Regions from separate parts of the Homo sapiens genome. Here region 1 is linked to region 2. The links are contacts of gene promoters, found by promoter capture Hi-C in blood cells and fetal thymus (Javierre and others, 2016). All regions are on one chromosome and are shown on one strand. Each heading gives the region's core, a stretch centred on a gene start or on the middle of the fragment in contact. The rest is flanking DNA. Distances are from core to core; before and after follow the strand shown.

Evidence for each region. Contacts are between HindIII fragments. The CHiCAGO score rates a contact against its expected background, and 5 or more counts as called.
Region 1: a contact is called between a fragment that was not itself captured here and the fragment with the promoter of PAQR9 in region 2, in 1 of 17 cell types (endothelial precursors). The highest score is 5.1, in endothelial precursors.

What each region holds. Positions count from the first base shown.
Region 1 is chr3:142,628,111-142,631,126 of GRCh38, reverse strand. The region is part of intron 1 of PLS1 (plastin 1); the gene reads right to left. The region is part of intron 2 of PLS1-AS1 (PLS1 antisense RNA 1); the gene reads left to right. Among named protein-coding and RNA genes, the nearest start is that of PLS1-AS1, 27 kb to the left of the region's middle. The HindIII fragment of the contact is 1,037 bases long and covers 1,115-2,151 here.
Region 2 is chr3:142,962,424-142,965,306 of GRCh38, reverse strand. It overlaps PAQR9 (progestin and adipoQ receptor family member 9), which reads left to right and starts at 1,633. Exons shown (of 1, transcript NM_198504.4): 1 at 1,633-2,883. The coding sequence starts at 1,971. It overlaps PAQR9-AS1 (PAQR9 antisense RNA 1), which reads right to left and starts at 1,249. Exons shown (of 5, transcript NR_125393.1): 1 at 1,209-1,249; 2 at 671-842. RefSeq lists a silencer at 2,419-2,604. The HindIII fragment of the contact is 6,414 bases long and covers 1-2,883 here.

The DNA.
Region 1 (3,016 bases), core at 384-2,883, 330 kb after region 2:
GGGATTACAGACATGAGCCACCATGCCCAGTCTCAATTTCATTCTTTTGCATATGGATATCCAATTTTCCAACACCATCTGTTGAACAGACTGTCTCTGCCCCATCGTATAAGTCTTGGGACCCTTGTCAAAAATCATTTGACTCTCCCTCTATGTGTGTGTGTGTGTGTGTGTGTGTGTGTGTGTGTTTATTTACATGCTCTCTATTCTGTTCCATTGGTCTATATATATGTCTTTATGCCAGTACTATACCATCTTGATATCAGACTGCTGCTTTGTAGTATATTTTGAAAGCAGGAACTGTACACTCTCTATTTTTTTCAAGATTGCTTTGGATATTCAAGGTTGCTTGAGATTTTCTTTTTTTTCTTTTTTGAGACAGAGTTTTGCTGTTGTTGCCCAGACTGGAGAGCAGTGGCATGATCTTGGCTCACTGCAACCTCCACCTTCTGGTTTCAAGCAATTCTCCCACCTCAGCCTCCTGAGTAGCTGGGATTACAGACACTCACCACCATGACCGGCTAATTTTTGTAATTTTAGTAGAGATGGAGTTTCACCATGTTGGCCAGGCTGGTCTCGAACTCCTGACATCATGATCTGCCCACCTCGGCCTCCCAAAGTGCTGGGATTACAGGCATGAGCCACTGCACCCAGCCAGGATTTTATATTTCAGAGTGTTTTGTTTGTTTTTTTTTTTTTTTTTTTTGAGGCAGGGTCTCACTGTGTTGCCCAGGCTGGAGTGCACTGGTGCAATCTCAGCTTACTACAACCTCCACCTCCTGGGCTCAAGCAATCCTCCCGCCTCAGCCCCCTGAGCAGCTGGTATTACAGGCACCTGCCACCACGCCCCGATAGTTTTTGTCTTTTTAGTAGAGATGGGGTTTCACCATGAGACCAGGATGGTCTCAAAATCCTGGCCTCAAGTGATCTACCTGCCTCGGCCTCCCAAAGTGCTGGGATTACAGGTGTGAGCCACCTTGCCAGGCCAAAATTTTAAATTTTTTTTTCTGTTTCTGTAGGTGGGGGGAAACCCTATAACCATTCTTGATCTTTATTCTTGGATGCAGTTAAATTACTTGGAAAGAGTTTGACCCTTAGGTCTTGCTTTTAAGCTTCATTAGGCAGGACCAGCACAGAAGTGAGTTTAGGGCTCTGATTCTCAACAGGAGATGACTATGATCCCCAGAGGACATCTGGCAATGTCTGGAGACATTTTTTACTTTCACAAAAGGAGGCATCACTGGCATCTAGTGTGTTGAGGCCAGGGACGTTGCTAAACATCATATAATACACAGGAGATCCCCTTAAAACAAAGAATTATCAAGTCTAACATTCCTATAGTGCTGAGGTTGAGAAACCACACTGTCTGTGGGCTAATTATTCCCCATTATTGAGGCAAGAGGCCTCTGAGTACCCAATAAGCTGTACATTACTACATGGTTTTTTACCGTGTGGCTGGTAAGAACTGGCACTGTTCCTGGTCTGTGTGAGTGCTAAGCACTATTCCTTCTAATCCTTCCCGACAGTTCTTTCCCAGGTCTCCAGTTAGTTTCCTCATACCCATGTGTGCTAATCAGAATTCTGATGAATATGTGCCAGGAACTTTATATAAATTATTTCTAATCCGGCCAGGCACAGTGGCTCACGCCTGTAAACCCAGCACTTTGGGAGGCCGAGGCGGGTGGATCATGAGGTCAGGAGTTCGAGACCAGCCTGGCCAACATGGTGAAACCCCGTCTCTACTAAAAATACAAAAATTAGCCGGGCATGGTGGTGTGCACCTGTAATCCCAGCTACTCAGGCTTAGGAGGCTGAGGCAGAAGACTTGCTTGAACCTAGGAGGCAGAAGTTGCAGTAAGCCAAGATCGCGCCATTGCACTCCAGCCTGGGTGACAGAGTGAGACTATGTCTCAAAAAAAAAAAAAAATTATTTCCAATCCTTAAAACAGCCACCAAAAGTAGCAGTTGTTATCTCTATTTTTACTTATAAAATCAAGCTCACTAAGGTTAACTAACTTGCCCAGTAGCACTCAGCTAGTAGGCACATATTAGTATCAAAACAACTACAGTCATATTGAAACAAACTTGAAACAAGTGTGAGGAACAAGTCCACATGATCACTATTCAATCTAAGGCTGGGTCCAGGAAGCTTCCCCTCTGGACCTGCCATAAGAGAATTTCGTCATTCTGCTTACAGAGTTAATCTGACTCTATACAGCTTTTGAAACCTTAGAATATTTTACTTCAGTTAACTTCATTACTTAAAATAGCATTAATTGGCTGACCCAGTGTTTTTTGTTTGTCTGTTTCAAAGTGATGGGTTTTTTCATTAAGTCATAAGGTAGTATGAATGTCTCAGGACAAATTCACTAGAGATTTCATTCTCAGCTAATAACAATGACAAATGTTGTGAAAGAAAGAAATAAGTTTGAAAGTGATTCTTCATGGTGGCCTAAAACCAAAGACTAAGGAAGACCACCATGATATTATAAGTAACAGGTGCCATTATCAAGGTAAATTACATTTCACATTTAAGTGTTTTCTAATTTATAAAGCACTTTCAGATGTATTATCACATCTGACTTTCACATCAGCCCAGTGAGCTAAGGAACAGGACTGAATATTACATATTATAGAATTATTAGCTGTTTCCTAATATGTAAAATGAGAATAAAAATAATATTATTACACTACATAAATTTATACACATACACATATGCATGCACACATGCACACTGCATGCACATGTGCGCGCACACATGCACACTGCATGCACATGTGCGCGCACACACACACACTATATTCTGGGACCCATCTTTATTCCCATTTCCACATATAAGGAAACAGATTCAGAGAGATCAAGCTAAACAGCCTAGATCATCCACTAGTAAGTGTCAAAGCTGGTAGTATTTTCAGTGTGCCCGAGTCCCAGTTCCATGTTCCTTTCAAAAAACCGAACTGACTCCTGAATGGCCAAAAGCAATGATGTCATGAATCAGGTTCTCAAGGGAACCAA
Region 2 (2,883 bases), core at 384-2,883:
AGACTGTTTCTAGCATCCTTAAGTAACTGCAGACACTTATAATACTGAATGATATCCTAGTTATAAATAATTCTTATCCATAACTTAAATCCATCTTGAGGCTCTACTAAGTAAATCTTCCTTAACCTACTTAGAGGATGTGCAGTAGCGATGAAAGTAGCCTTTCTTTTCTTTTTCTTTTTTTTTTTTTTTTTGAGACGGAGTCTCGCTCTGTCGCCAGGCTGGAGTACAGTGGCGCGATCTCGGCTCACTGTAACCTCCTCCGCCTCCTGGGTTCCAGCGATTCTCCTGCCTCAGCCTCCCGAGTAGCTGGGACTACAGGCGTGCGCCACCACTCCCACATAATTTTTTGTATTTTTAGTAGAGACGGGGTTTCACCGTGTTGGCCAGGATGGTCTCAAATCTCTTGACCTCGTGATCTGTGTGCTGGGAGTACAGGCGTGAGCCACCGCGCCCGGCCTTAAGCCCCTTTCTTTAAGGCTCAAGGGCATATTTTCACACTGCAGTGCATCACAACCGTTTTCATTCTTCCAGTGTTCCTTTCTTCTGGTCTCCAGCCACCTGCCAGGTACTTCTGATTAATTACATATAAGATTTATCCAAGCCACCCCCTCCGTTTCTACCAACTGGACTTCATTCTCTTCAGTTCCTGCTAGAATGCACCTCCTACCTGAAGTCTTCCCTCATCAATGCCCTCCATGATCAGCCTTTGACTCTGGAATCCCTTAATATATTCCTCAGATCATTAGAGGTTTTCTGAGTCATCATCTGAGATTTTTCATTAAATTGTGGAGTTTGAGCAGCCAGTCCTGAGCTGTCGGACTCAGTTCCAAATAGAAGTCCTAGTTAAAGACACAAAAACAAGAAGATGGGTTAGCTGCGGCTCGAAGAGCTGGTGAGCGCGACCACAGGGCAGCTTGCGGACGGTTCTTTCGGACAGGACAAGGGCGAGGGAAACGGCAGAATGGTGACGCACCTGAGTGCGCCCACTAGACGAAAGAAGACCAACTAAGCCTTCGTGTAGTGCGTAGACAGGCCGACACACACACACACACACACACACACACACTAACACACACGCAAAGACAGTGAGGGAGCGAGAGGCGCATCCCCAGGTAGCTGACAATGACACGGCCCCGATCCGGACGCGGGCTTAAAGCCCCCCGACTTCCGGAGTGCCCCCCTCCCCGGCGACCTCCGGAGATTACCGCTGGCGCATCTCTCCGCCCTGCCCGGCTCCGGCGCCCTCCCCTCCCCCCGCAGCCGCAGCTCCCCGCCCCCCGCGAACGCGGCTCCCCAGTGTCCTCCAGAACGCCCGCGTGGCTGTCGGGTTTCGAACCCCAGGGCCGACTCTAGTACTCGGCGCGCGCGCCGCCGCGTCGCCGACCAGCCTGCGGCCCCCGCATCAATCATTAACGGGGCGGCCCGGGCTGCGGCGGCCCGAGGAGGGGGATGGTACGGAACTCGAGACAGGGGACAACTCTATCCCCCGAAGCGGCCGCGAAACCCTAGCCTGGGAGGCCCCCGCCCTTCCTCGGTGCGCCCGTCCCTCCCTCCGCGCCTCGGCTCGCACATCCCCACCTCCCGCTCCGGGGGCGGCGGCGGCGGAGGCACCCGCACCGCGCGATGCCCAGTCACCGCTGCCGCGCTGCCGCCGCAGTCAGCCGCGCCGCCGCCGCTGCCGCAGCGCGGGCGGCCGCGCGCCGGTAGCAGGGGCTTGGCGAGGAAGCCGCTGAGCCTCGCGCGCTCCGCGCTCCTGGCGGTCGCAGCGCTGCCTATTAATTGATTCTCTTATTGATTTATTTAATTTTTAGGAGCGGCTGCTCGGAGGCACGGGTCTTCTCCTAAACCTGCAGCGACGCCCCCGGCGTGGGCACAAAGGCTCCGACGGCGGCCGGCGGGGGCTGCCCAGCGCCCGGGAGCCGGCGCCAGAGGTCGCCTGCGCGCGCCCTAGCCGAGCCCCGGGCACCATGCCGCGGCGCCTGCAGCCCCGGGGCGCGGGCACAAAAGGCCCTCCGGCCCCGGCCCCGGCAGCTTCGGGGGCCGCCCGGAACTCCCACTCTGCCGCCTCCCGGGACCCCCCAGCGTCTGCCAAGCCGCTGCTGCGCTGGGACGAGGTGCCCGACGACTTCGTGGAGTGCTTCATCCTGTCGGGCTACCGGCGTCTGCCGTGCACGGCCCAGGAGTGCCTAGCCTCGGTGCTGAAGCCTACCAACGAGACGCTCAACTTCTGGACGCACTTCATCCCGCTGCTGCTGTTCCTGAGCAAGTTCTGCCGTCTGTTCTTCCTGAGCGGCGGCGACGTGCCCTTCCACCACCCGTGGCTGCTACCGTTGTGGTGCTACGCGTCGGGAGTGCTGCTGACCTTCGCCATGAGCTGCACGGCGCACGTGTTCAGCTGCCTGTCGCTGCGTCTGCGCGCCGCCTTCTTCTACCTGGACTACGCGTCCATCAGCTACTACGGCTTCGGCAGCACGGTGGCCTACTACTACTACCTGTTGCCAGGCCTCAGCTTGCTGGATGCCAGAGTCATGACTCCATACTTGCAGCAGCGCCTGGGCTGGCACGTGGACTGCACGCGCCTTATCGCCGCCTACCGCGCCCTGGTGCTGCCTGTGGCCTTCGTGCTGGCGGTGGCTTGCACTGTGGCCTGCTGCAAGAGCCGTACCGACTGGTGTACCTACCCGTTCGCGCTGCGCACCTTCGTCTTCGTCATGCCGCTCAGCATGGCCTGCCCCATTATGCTCGAGAGCTGGCTCTTCGACCTGCGTGGGGAGAACCCCACACTCTTCGTGCACTTCTACCGCCGCTACTTCTGGCTGGTGGTGGCCGCCTTCTTCAACGTGAGCAAGATCCCCGAGCGCATCCAGCCGGGTCTTTTCG